Linked DNA regions of Homo sapiens: region 2 is linked to region 1. Evidence: promoter capture Hi-C in 16 types of primary human blood cells and fetal thymus (Javierre and others, 2016). All regions are on one chromosome and are shown on one strand. The core of a region is centred on a gene start or on the middle of the fragment in contact, and the rest is flanking DNA. Distances in the headings are between cores, read along the strand shown.

Evidence for each region. Contacts are between HindIII fragments. The CHiCAGO score rates a contact against its expected background, and 5 or more counts as called.
Region 2: a contact is called between a fragment that was not itself captured here and the fragment with the promoter of ZNF70 in region 1, in 1 of 17 cell types (naive B cells). The highest score is 5.5, in naive B cells.

What each region holds. Positions count from the first base shown.
Region 1 is chr22:23,746,718-23,753,430 of GRCh38, reverse strand. ZNF70 (zinc finger protein 70) reads left to right here and starts at 2,319. Exons shown (of 2, transcript NM_021916.4): 1 at 2,319-2,720. It overlaps VPREB3 (V-set pre-B cell surrogate light chain 3), which reads left to right. Exons shown (of 2, transcript NM_013378.3): 2 at 233-688. The coding sequence ends at 555. RefSeq lists enhancers at 1-533, 1,044-1,103, 1,944-2,003, 1,886-2,561 and a silencer at 2,154-2,603. The HindIII fragment of the contact is 6,484 bases long and covers 1-3,010 here.
Region 2 is chr22:23,906,926-23,913,638 of GRCh38, reverse strand. No RefSeq gene overlaps it. Among named protein-coding and RNA genes, the nearest start is that of MIF-AS1, 11 kb to the right of the region's middle. RefSeq lists enhancers at 4,259-5,103, 5,950-6,713. The HindIII fragment of the contact is 1,468 bases long and covers 3,123-4,590 here.

The sequences.
Region 1 (6,713 bases), core at 1,070-3,569:
TGGAGATTTGGGGGCTAACTCCAAACCCCTCACTCACAAAGGGAGATGGAGGTCCAGATAGGGCACCCTAAGTCACACAGAACCAGGCCTCCTGCACCCCGTTCATTGCTAATCCCATAGCACTGGGCTATGAGCCCTTTGGGACTGGGAGTCTCCATGGAGTCCAACCAAGCCTTCACAGGGCAGGGGTGGGAGGGAAGGGGCTCAGGCTGAGTGGGTTTGTGTCTCGCAGTTTCCCAGACAGTCCTGGCCCAGCTGGATGCACTGCTGGTCTTCCCAGGCCAAGTGGCTCAACTCTCCTGCACGCTCAGCCCCCAGCACGTCACCATCAGGGACTACGGTGTGTCCTGGTACCAGCAGCGGGCAGGCAGTGCCCCTCGATATCTCCTCTACTACCGCTCGGAGGAGGATCACCACCGGCCTGCTGACATCCCCGATCGATTCTCGGCAGCCAAGGATGAGGCCCACAATGCCTGTGTCCTCACCATTAGTCCCGTGCAGCCTGAAGACGACGCGGATTACTACTGCTCTGTTGGCTACGGCTTTAGTCCCTAGGGGTGGGGTGTGAGATGGGTGCCTCCCCTCTGCCTCCCATTTCTGCCCCTGACCTTGGGTCCCTTTTAAACTTTCTCTGAGCCTTGCTTCCCCTCTGTAAAATGGGTTAATAATATTCAACATGTCAACAACAGCTATTGTGAGGGTCATAAGATCCTGGCTGAGAAAAATGACTGTGGTGGGTCTGGGAGTCGAAGACCCACTCCTGGGGTGGGGAGCAGTGTGCGGGGGAATGGGGATTCTGGGGACTGTTGTCAAAGAGGAAGCACCTGAGACTATTGGGGCATGGCCCAGACTCCCCCACCATGGCCCCCTGGGGGCTCAAACTGGTAGCCTGACCTTCCTGTGACCTGAGGAGCCGGAGGGAGAAAAAGGAACCAGCCCTTGCCGCCCCCAACTCTGCATGGCTGGTTATGGTCCAAGGGTTATGGCTCTAGGGTGGCTGGTCCCCATGGAGCTCAGGCTGTTGGCTTGGGGAGGGGCAGCCACTGCCTACCCCTTGGAGTCTGTGCCCAAGGCCCGACAGAGCATTAATGGGGCAGGAAGGCAGGTGTGTGTGGGTAGCATTGGAGGCACTCGAGCGCCAAGGCTGAGGGTGCTGAAGGCAGGTGGGCGGCTGGGGCAGAATCCTTTTTCCCAGGGACAGTGTGTTCTCCTGATGTCCTGTGATTGGGCCAAGGTCTGCGGAGGGAAGCTCTCCCACAAGCTGGGCAGCTGCACCTGAGGGGGGGGTGTCATGGGCAGAACACTGGGTGGAGGGGCCAGTCTTGCCATCAGCAGCAAGGAGGGGGCGGAGATTCCTTTTCTTTTTTTTTTTTTTGTTTTTTGAGATGGAGTCTCGCTCTGTCGCCCAGGCTGGAGTGCAATGGCACTATCTTGGCTCACTGCAACCTCCGCCTCTCAGGGTCAAACGATTCTCCTGTCTCAGTAGCTGGGATTACAGGCGCTTGTCACCACTCCCGGATAATTTTTAGTAGAAACAGGGTTTCACCATGTTGGTCTGGCTGAGTCTCGAACTCCTGACCTCGTGATCCACCCGCCTCCGCCTCCCAAAATGCTGGGATTAAAGGCGTGAGCCACCGCGCCCGGCCAAGGGGGCGGCCATTTCAAGAACACATTCCTCTTCCCTCCCGGTGCGCCTGAGAGGAGGCGCTTCATGTCGAAGTCAGCCCTGGGATGCAGAGAGTTGGGGGGCTCAGGGTCCTGGGATGGTCTCGCAGACACTCCTAGTTCTTCGCCTGCCCCTTCTCATCTCTATTTCTGTGGGGGCGGGGAGGGCAGACAGGAACAGGGCTACCCTTGAAGCAGGTTGGGGGAGGGGGATCCTAACAGGACCCCGGTGCCTGTGGACAGTGACAGGGTCGACAGCTCTGGGGCTCCACTCTCCTTTCCCTGAAGACCCCAGCTGCCTCAGTGGCTTCTGGCTTGCACCCAGCACCAGCGCAGATGCCCCGAGTGCCGGCGGCTCGAGGTCGGCCCGCCCGTCCGGACCTGTTTCCTCCTCTGCTCTCCTGCCAACGCCTGCCCATCTCTGTTTCCCCCACGTCCAGCACGCGCTTCGGGGACGGCCAGAGCCACCATGCCGACTGGAGAGACTCTCCTGATTCGGGTCCTTGTGTCCCGGGGCCCGGGCGGCTTCGCGCGGCGACAACCGGCGCGGTGGGACCACCGAGACGCCGGGACCTCCGCGCGGCCTAGAGTGGTCCCGGAAGTGCCCGCGGGCCGGGGGCGGGGCTCTGGGTGCTCGGGCGGCCGCGGGCTCCGCGTCAGCAGCTGCTGTGGAGCCAGGCAGCGTCGGCCGCGTCGGCCGCGGGTTGGAGCAGCTCAGGTGCGGCCCCGCCCCGCCCGCCTGCGGCCCCGCCCCGGCCCAGGTGAGCTGCCCCGCCCCGGCCCAGGTGAGTGGCCCCGCGTCCGCCGGTGTGACCTGAGTCCGCCTGACCACCTGTCCCTCCGGTGGCCCTGGGTGTGCGTGTCCCCAATCGCGGGGAAGCCTGTAGGGGCGCCACGTCGCCGCCTGGGCAGCGTGTGCGGGTCCGTGGCAACTCTTGGGCCCCCAGCCAGGAAACCTTGACTGCACTAAGAGTTTGCAGGGTGCCCAGGCCCTAGGGACTCTCTGGAGGATGGGATGACAGATGCAGGAGGACCCGGAGAAGGCCCCGACAGAGGTGGGAAGCATGGAGTTCCAGATCTTTGCATTTTCGGTCCAAAAACACTTATCATGTTGTGGGAGACAGATAAAGGGTTGCCAACTTTTTTCTGAGTGGAGACTTCAGGGTGTAGGGGCTATATAGTGGGAATGGAAAACCTCTACGGAGGGAAGTTTGAGAACACCAGGACTTAATGGGTGGGCGGAGGAAGAGTTGCAATCTAAAGATATCAAGAAAGAGAACTTGGAAGCCATGAAAATTGGGAAGAAAGCGAGGGTGGGGATGGGGTTGGGGGGTAGCTCAAAGCTTTCATGCACCTAGGTAGGCAATGTGGGCGGGTGAAGGGATATTGTCACATCTTCGTTTTTCAAGAGAAAGCCAGAAACCTACTGAGTTTTAAATATTGGTAACTAAGGAAAATGAACAGGAAAAGCCAAACTCTTCGAGAGCCAAACATAACATAGCAGGATCTTCAGGCTGCCAATTTGCAACCTCTGAAATGAAGGGTTTTGAGAAGGAGGTATTGGAGAGCAGTGCCAGATGGGGTGGGAAGGTGAAGACCGAGAAGAGAGGGATTGGCAATAAGGAGGTCATAGAATGCCAGAGCTGAGGTCCCAGCTGAAATCGGAAACTCGAAATTTGTCGTGGTGCCATACATAGTTGTATGATTTTTCTTGGCAACATTTAACAACTTAGGAGGAACTGGCCGAGAAGACTGGGACTTAGCGGCTAGTTGCAGCCGGACGAGGAGGTGAGGAGCATGGTGCTAGAGCGTGAGAGTTGAAGTGATGCGCATAGTATGGAGAGTCTAAGCTGGATGGAGAAGGGGTGGAGCTAGAAAAGGAGAACTACAGTAAAAATGGCTTGGATTTCATGAGGTCGAAAAGCACAAATTGAGTGAGAGAGCTGGAAGAGTTGGAGATTATGGGTTGCTGAAGAGGAGGGGGAGGGTGAGAGGAGTTGAAGTGATCAAAGAATTTTTGAAAATACTTTAGGGCTGGGCGAGGGGGCTCACGCCTATAATACCAGCACTTTCGGAGGCCAAAATGGGTGGATCGCATGAGCTCAGAAATTCGAGACCAGTCTGCACAACATGGCGAAAACCCATCTCTACAAAAAATACAAAAATTAGCCAGGTGTGGCACGTGCCTGTAGAGCCTGTATTCCCAGCTACTTTTTTTTTTTTTTTTTTTTTTTTTTTGAGACGGAGTCTCGTCCTGTCGCCCAGCCTGGAGTGCAGTGGCGCGATCTCGGCTCACTGCAAGCTCCGCCTCCTGGGTTCACGCCATTCTCCTGCCTCAGCCTCCCAAGTAGCTGGGACTACAGGCACCTGCCACCACGGCCGGCTTTTTTTTTTTTTTTTTTTTTTTTTTTTTTTTTGAGATGGAGTCTCGCTCTGTTACCCAGGCTAGAGTGCAGTGGCGCGATCTCGGCTCACTGCAACCTCCGCCCCCCAGGTTCAAGCGATTCTCCTGCCTCAGCCTCCCGGAGTAGCTGGGATTACAGACGCGCTGTAATTTTTGTAATTTTAGTAGAGACGGGGTTTCACCATCTTGGCCAGGCTGGTCTTGAACTCCTGACCTCATGATCCACCCACCTCGGCCTCCCAAAGTGCTGGGATTAGAGGCGTGAGCCACCGCGTCCGGCCTTTTTTGTATTTTTAATAGAGACAGGGTTTCACCGTGTTAGCCAGGATGGTGTCCTAGCTACTTAAGAGGCTGAGATAGGAGAATCACTTGAACCCAGGAGCCAGAGGTTCCAGTGAGCTGTAATCACACTACTGCACTCCATTCTGGAAAAAGAAAATACTTTAGTTCAGTGCTCTTTTTTTTTTATATCCAGTCGGTCTATTGGCTGAAAAATCATTTAAAAAAATCATTTCTGGGCTGGGCGTGGTGGCTCACACCTGTAATCCCAGCACTTTGGGATGCCAAGGTGGGCGGATCACCTGAGGTCAGGAGTTCGAGACCAGCCTGGCCAACATAGTGAAACCCCATCTCTACTAAAAATACAAAAATTATCCGGGCCTGGTGGCGGGTGCCTGTAATCCCAGCTATTCAGGAGGGTGAGGCAGGAGAATTGCTTGAACCCAGGAGGCAGAGGTTGCAGTGAGCCGAGATTGGGCCATTGCACTCCTGGCTGGGCAACAAGAGTGAGACTCCACCTCAAAAAAAAAAAAAAATCATTTCTGCTGGGCATGGTGGCTCATGCCTGTAATCCAGCACTTTGGGAGGCAGAGGTGGGAGGACTGCTTGAGCCCAGGAGTTCAAGACCAGCCTGGGCAACATAATATTATCTCATCTCTACAGAAAAATTAAAAAATTAGCTGGATGTGTTGATATGCCCCTGTAGTCCCAGCTACTTGAGAGGCTGAGGTTGGAGGATCAGTTGAGCCGGGGAGGTCAAGGCTGCAGTGAGCTGTGATTCTACTCCTGCACTCCAGCCTGGGTGACAGAGTGAGACCCTGTCTCAAAAAAAATTTTTTTTTCCAAGTAGAAATGAGTTCTGTTATGACTGTTCTGATTAATTTAGTTTTTTTTTTTTTTCTGAGGCAGTTACTCTCTAGATGCAGTATAAGGATAATTGTGCCTTTGTATAGAGTTGTGAAGATTAAATGAGGTGCCTTGAAGGACCTATTAGTGCCTAGCACAGAGTAGGTGCTCAGTGAATATGAGCTGTTGCTATCATTATTGTGTCACCTGAAGACTTTGCCTTTATCTAGCACAGAAGTTTCTGAATAGGGCTCTTTGGGGCTTCCTCAGGGGCCACATCTGGGAGGGGGAGTGCTGAGTGGGCTGTTCTAGCTTCCTTCCTTGTCCCTGCTAACGCGCCCTCCTTCAACTGGAGCAGCTCTGCTTTTGTCTGTTTTATTTTATTTTTATTTTTATTTATTTATTTATTTTTTGAGACGGAGTCTCACTCTGTTGCCCAGGCTGGTGTGCAGTGGCATGATCTCGCAAGCTCTGCCTCCTGAGTTCACGCCATTCTCCTGCCTCAGCCTCCCGAGTAGCTGGGACTACAGGCACCTGCCACCACGCCTGGCTAATTTTTTTGTATTTCTAGTAGAGATGGGGTTTCACCGTGTTAGCCAGGATGGTCTCGATCTCGTGACCTCGTGATCTGCCCACCTCGGCTTCCCAAAGTGCTGGGATTACAGGTGTGAGCCACCGCGCCCGGACTTGTCTGTTTTATTTATTTATGTCTCCTAGACCAGTGATCCCCAACCTTTTTGGCATCAGGGACCAGTTTTGCAGAAGACAATTTTTCCATGAATGGGTGGGGGACATGGGGGATGGTTTTGAGATGAAACTGTTCCACCTCAGATCATCAGGTGTTAGATTCTCATAAAGAGTGCACAACCAAATCCCTCGTATGCACAGTTTACGATAGGGTTCCAGTTCCTATGAGAATCTAATGCCACTGCTCATCTGACAGGAGGCAGAGTTCAGGCTGTAATGCTCGCTCACCTTCCGCTCACCTCCTGCTATGCGGCCTGGTTCCTAACAGGCCACAGACTGGTGCCTGTCCCCCACTCTGGGGGTTGGGGACCCCTGTCCTAGACAGTTGACTTATTTGACTAAAGTGTTCTTTGACCAAAAAAAGTGACAGTTCTAGAAAAACAAATGGCTTTTCCTCCATTTGATAATTTATTCAACAACTGTGTACATTGGGATTGTGCTTTTGTGCTGGGGGCTGGGGATTCTGAAATGAAGGAGCACAGTATTTGCCCTTAGGGAATTTTCAAGCTAACGATGGGGGCCTGAGATGGTCAAGAACCTGAGGGTGCAGAGAAAAAGGGACATTTGGACGAGTCCTGAAGGATGAGCAAGTGGCAGTCTGAGAATGGTCCTTACCTGTTAGGACCAGACAACAGCAGTGCAAATTAGTCATTGAGCTGGAAAATTAGAAGTGTTGGGGGGACCAGCCTGGGCAATACAGTGTGACCTCATCTCTACAAAAAGAAAGAATTAAAAAAATTAGCAGAGTGTGGTGGCATACACTTGCAGTCCC
Region 2 (6,713 bases), core at 2,607-5,106, 160 kb before region 1:
AAAAGTGGAGGGGAAAGAAGGGAGATGGGAGAAATGGAGGGCAGAAGAGGCAACGTTCCCCAGCCCTATAAACCATAATGAGCCCATATGAGAAAGCAGAAAGGTGGGTGGGAAGTGGGGGGCTAGAAAGGAAAAGAAACAAAAGCTGTCTTGGTCTGAGTCAGGAGCCCAGCTGTTGTGACAGGAAGGGACCTCAGAGATGGCTTTCACAGGTGGCTGTGACTATAGCTCTTTCTGGTGCCTCAAGCTCCCTCTTAACCCCTGGGAGACTTTTACCTTTGGGAGAGATTTCCCTTTGGGTTAAGGAGGGGAAAGAGGGACAGAGGGACAGTGGCAAGGGATGCCAGGAGAAGGTGAGGGAGAGGACACATGAGTGTTAGGTTTTTGAAAAAAGACGAGGGTTAAAGACAAGAGAGTTGACCACTCTACAACACAGGTTTATTAACACAACCTACAGAGGTGGGGACCAACTTAATGCCAAAGCCCCACTAGCACTTACAGGCTGGAATCATTATAGGCCTGGATGAGGGGTCTGGAATGGTAGGACTTACTGCCCAAGAGGATGTTAATAAAAATATTTCTTAAACCTTTGTCCCAACAAGATGTGATAAAGAAGTCAGACAGTTGGGGAGGATGTTACTTACAGCCCAAACCCCTGCAGAATGTTTCACTGTGACCAGGGTCTATGAAATGGCAGGAAGATTTACAAAATAATACAGCTTGGACTAAAAATTAGGGCCCAGCCTGGGGAGAGCTAGGCACTGATTTTTAGAGAAGTCTATGTCTTTGGCTATGCCAGAAGCACTGCAATCTTATTTCAAGGGCTTCTGGATGTGGTGGACTAAGTCTAAGACTAGGGGGTCCAGAGAAGACCCCATCCTTAGTAACCCTTGTCAATAGGGAGACTTCTCACGGAATCTGCTCTTTGGGTTTGACCCTCTGTCTTCATGTTCATGCCTCATTCATCTTTGTTAGGTTTTGAAGGGAAGGTGAGGGTTAAAGAGTTGGCAGCTTAACAGCAACACAGGTTTATTGCCAGCACAAACCTGTGGAGGGGGGACCAGCTTAGTCTCAGAGCACGAGTCCCACTTACAGACTGGGACATTTACTATAAGGAAGAGGAAAGCAACACGAAGGGTGGCTGGGCAGTCAACAAGGACAGGTTTATTTTAGAAAATAAACTTGAGAGGGGCTTCTGGCCGAGTTAGCTCAGACTAACTTCTGTTACAGACTAAGGATATTTAAGGGTTTTGGAAGGGGTCTTATCGTAGGTTCCGAATGTTTCTGTGTGAGGGAAAGTTTATTGCGGGGTTGGAATGTCTCTGGTCGGAAGGGAGGCTGTCTCGGGGTTGGCATGTTTCTGGTCAGAGGGGTTTATCTTAGGGTTGGAATATTTCTGGTTATGCTGACATTAGCCATTAGGCTGATGTTTTGGGGCTGGATTTAGGCGGCTTTTAATGAAGGGGGAACTTAGAATGGTGGTATTTGTTCAAGATGGCAGTGCTCCTGCTCTGTCAGTTATGGGTCTGGACCGGGGGAGAAGGGGCAGTATAGCTTGCTCCCCTGCAGGATGTTGAAGATGTTCCTTGGGCCCTTCATCCAGCAGGATGTAATAGAGATGTTCCTGTGGTTAGGTGGTTAGGCAGTATTTTTTTATGACCTGAACCCCCATGGAATGTTTTATTCTGACCAGGTTCTGTGAAATGTTGGGAGACATCTGCGGCCATACTGTAAGGCTCTTGTGTTGGTTCGAACCCCGAGAGCTTGCCAGCAAAGAACACAAGGCAGTGTGGAGCAACACGCTGTTTTAATGAGCACCTGGGTGCAGATGGGCTGAGGCCTAAAATGGCGTCAGCCCCAGGTGAGGACGGGGCAGGGGTTTTATAGTCTCCTGTAAACAGGAAGTGTCCCAGTCTGATGTAACTGCTACATGGTACCCAGATGGCCTCTCTCTTGATCTTCAGGGGTACGTGTCTCCTGGCCAGCTCTCTTCCTGCTTCTGCTATCTTGCTGACACACGCTGCTAGCACAAGTGGTCTTGTGCCTTGGGACTGGGCCTGAGAAGGGAGGAGTTATTCATCCCCCCAAACTTTCAGGCCCCGGGGAGAATCTTTCACATACCACCCTGAACACGCCCAATCTCGTCTGATCTCAGAAGCTAAGCAGGGTCTGGCCTGGTTAGTACTTGGATGGGAAATGATCACAGGGAGGCTTACAAAATGGTATAGGATATCTTGTGGTTTAAGCCCATTCCCTCCGGGAAGACCTTGTTGGTTTTCTCCCTACAGAACCTGCTGTGTACAAAATGGTGTAGGATATCTTGGGGTTTAAGCCCATTCCCTGAACCTGCTATGACATTAACTGAACAGCTCCTGGGGGTGCATCCCAATAGGGAAGTTATTGAGCTCCCAATGTTTTCGTGAAGCTGCTTTGTCAACTGTGAAATAATTATTGCCCTGCCCACTCCTGGGGTTGTTAGAGACCCAGTGAGATACTAAAAGTGTGTTTAAAGCATGTAGGGTCTGCAAATGCAATAAAGTGTGGTCAGAAAGCCCAACTCACGTGGCTTTGGGGGCCACTGGTGAGAGAAGAGACTGGAGGCAGCCTGTTGTGGTCAGAGCCTCCTGCTATTGTCAATTTCTCCTCACTGTCCCCTTTACCAGGAAGGCAGTGTCAGTTTGATCAGCTGCCAGTCTGTTTGCCCTCATTCCCCCTGGCCCTGCCCTGAGTCCAGCGACCTGGATTTGAAACCTGCATCTGTCACTTACTAGCTGAGGGATCTTGGGCAAGACATTTCAGCCCTTTTCTGCTTAAATAGAGTTAAGACAGCCTATGAATGAAACTATATAAACCAAGGCATTTCTGACTCCAGTAGGAGGCAGCTGCTGTGAGGGAGAAGCCCTGGCCAGGAATCTGTTATAGTTATTTTGTCACCAACTGGAATGGCCTTGGGACAAAGCACAACAGCTGTCTTGACCTCATCAATAGCCTTGACCTCATCCCTCGTGTCATGCTGTGTCATCTTCAACATCTGTCACTTCCATCAGCCTTAGCATTGGCCTTGGCCTCAGTTTCCTCATGTGTGACTTGAGGATGATGATTCTTATAGGAATCAATAAGCTTGGGATAAAGAAGCTATTGGGTCACATTATACATACTTTAAATGCATTAAGTGGGGTCTGCAGTTCCTAGAGATTAGCAGATTGCATTGCGTGAGAACAGAGCCATAGAGAATGTTTGAGGTCCCATTAATAGCTGATAGGAGGCTGATCAGTAAACACTGGGAGGGGAGGATTGACTCTTGGGTGAAGAGTTGGAGGAGGGTGGAGGATTGAGTCTTGGGTGAAGAGTTGGAGGGTGGAGGATTGAGTCTTGGGTGAAGAGTTGGAGGGTGGAGGATTGAGTGTTGGGTGAATTGAGTCTTGGATGAAGAGTTGGAGGGTGGAGGATTGAGTCTTGGGTGAAGAGTTGATTGGAAAACAAAGCTGAACAGAAAACCAGGGCATCATCAACACTGATGAGTAATTTTTTTTCTCTATAAAATGATTATTTAGATTAAGAAAAGGAATGACAAATTTTGAAAAGCCGACAAACACCACAAACTCCAGAAAAAAAAGAATCCTGACATTTTTACTAAGTGACAGACACACCTTCGCCTTTAAAACACTCTGTCCCCCCCATATTTCTTGGCTGCAGACTCTTTGATCACATTTTCGTGTGACAGTGATTTTGTAATATTTTCTATGGGGAGAATAGAAAGATAATTCCGTCTCTCCTTTGGCAGTAGGCATGTCCCTGTGAGGGAGGAGATCAGCAGGATTTTTCCAAGCACCTGTCAAAACCCTGCTGATCAAAACAGAACATAACAATAACAAAGAATGGCCAAAACCAGCTCGGAATAGGAATTAAAATGCATTTGCATAAGATACTCCCACCAGGGCCATGACAGTTTACAAATGATCCCACGGCAATAACCCAGGAATTATCTTATATGGTTCCAGGAACTTCCTGTTCCTAGTTTATGAATAACCTGCCTCTTATTTAGCATATAATTAGCAGGGGGTATAAATATAGCTAGCCAGCAATCCTGGAGTGCTATTCTACCTGTGGGGTAGCCCTGCTCTGTCTGTGGAGCAGCCATTTTGCTGTACAATGTTGCTTTAATAAACTTGCTTTGCTTTCAGTTTTGTCTGTTAGCTCACTCTTGAATTCCTTCCTGAGCAAAGCCAAAAACCCTCCCCGGCTGAGTCCCGATACGGGGATTTGCTTACATCAGCCAGAAGTAATTTATGCACAAAGATAACTATAGCAATTTTTAGTAGATACAGAAGTGACTTCAAAGCCCAGAAATGTGTCCCACTAAACTCATACAAAATGATCCCCAATTTTACCTTCTCCCTTAGCCATATCCAAAATAGCCACAGCCATTCCAACAGGACAGACGCGTGACAGAGGGAGAATATGAACTGAAAAGAGACACTAGGCCTCAACCAACTTGTAAAAATGTCTTCTACATATTTTCCAAAAGCACATGACAAAAGCATTGATAGGGCTCCTCCCAAGGCAAAGAGGGCCCCTGAGGGTTAAGCTTAATGTTGTCTCTGAAGCCACCTCTGCTCTGAATAATCGCAGCTGCACCGGTTGCAGCTCGCTCTTCCCCCAACATGTCCCACCTCACCCTCTCAACAATACAGTGGGGATGTTCTGAGATTTGTACCCACCGCCTAAAAGAACCCTCCTCTGGGTGGGATGAGATTCTCTGGCCCTTAGCAGGGCTCTAGCCTGCCCTGTCCTCTCCTACACATGCACCGGCAGTAAAAGCTGAACTTTGAACCACAGGTGCACTTCTTGAAAGGGGGCAGAGTGGGAGGCAGAAAAAACACGTTGGATCCTATACATGCCTTTGGGAACCCCCAGTGAACTCTCGGGGTTCCGTGTCTGGTCATCTTTACACTCCCTTCTAAGACTGCTGGGAGGAGCTATTGAACACTCTTGCATGAGACATCCACAAGCATAAAAAACATGGCAGCGGGGGAGGGGAAATGAGAGAGAAAAAGAGGAGAAGAATTTGAATAAAAGACTGTAGCTTGGAAGAGAAGGCAGTGGGGAGGGGCACCCAGATCTGGCCATCCTCACTGTCCCCCTGTTGCTGTGCCAGAGGCTGGCCCTGCCAGGAAAGCGTCATACCTTACCTCAGTTTCCCCTTTAAAACAGGGTTGCTAATTCCTACCTCACAGGGTGGTCCTCATGAGGATAACATGAGATAATGTCTGGGGAAATTGCTTGGGAAAGTGTAAAAGGCCACTCACACAGAAACCCCTCATGACCCATGTGGCCAAAGTGGGGACGTGGACTTAGAGGCCCTGGACCCAGGCCTGGGCCCTGCCTTGCCTGTCTGGGGAAATGGTCCTGGCCTTTACTCAACACTGACCCTGCCTTGGGAGGAAGAGCCTGCCCAGGCCAATCTCCCACGCCCTGACCGAAGCAGGTGCCGTCAGACAGAGTCCTGGCTTGGGAGTCAGAGGGACTGAGCTCAACACGTGGGTACCCTAGAACCTGCGCCTGGATAACTGAGTTGCTGATGCAGCCTGAAGGGGTGGGTTGCCCCTCCACACCTGTGGGTGTTTCTCGTTAGGTGGAACGAGAGACTTGGAAAAGAAAAAGACACAGAGACAAAGTATAGAGAAAGAAATAAGGGGACCCAGGGGACCAGCGTTCAGCATATGGAGGATCCCGCCAGCCTCTGAGTTCCCTTAGTATTTATTGATCATTTTTGGGTGTTTCTCAGAGAGGGGGATGTGGCAGGGTCATAGGATAATAGTGGAGAGAAGGTCAGCAGATAAACACGTGAACAAAGGTCTCTGCATCATAGACAAGGTAAAGAATTAAGTGCTGTGCTTTGATGTGCATATACATAAACATCTCAATGCCTTACAGAGCAGTATTGTTGCCCGCATGTCCCACCTCCAGCCCTAAGGCGGTTTTCCCCATCTCAGTAAATGGAATATACAATCGGGTTTTATACTGAGACATTCCATTGCCCAGGGACGGGCAGGAGACAGATGCCTTCCTCTTGTCTCAACTGCGAAGAGGCATGCCTTCCTCTTATACTAATCCTCCTCAGCACGGACCCTTTACGGGTGTCGGGCTGGGGTACGGTCAGGTCTTTCCCTTCCCATGAGGCCATATTTCAGACTATCACATGGGGATAAACCTTGGACAATACCTGGCTTTCTTAGGAAGAGGTCCCTGCGGCCTTCCGCAGTGTTTGTGTCCCTGGGTACTTGAGATTAGGGAGTGGTGATGACGCTTAACGAGCATGCTGCCTTCAAGCATCTGTTTAACAAAGCACATCCTGCACAGCCCTTAATCCATTTAACCCTGAGTGGACACAGCACATGTTTCAGAGAGCACGGGGCTGGGGGTAAGATCATAGATTAACAGCATCTCAAGGCAGAAGAATTTTTCTTAGTACAGAACAAAATGGAGCCTCCTATGTCTACTTCTTTCTACACAGACACAGTGACAATCTGATCTCTTTTTCTTTTCCCCACATAGCCAGGCCCCCGCTGCTGGGGTAGCCCAGCCTACGCCTCCGGGGGCCTTCAGGGAAGAGAACCAGCTAAGGCTGGGGGGACCAGGAGAAGGGTCCCCCAAGGTTGGAAAGTGCATGCAGGAGGATGCTCAGCAGGGGCTGCAACAGGGGGGCCTTG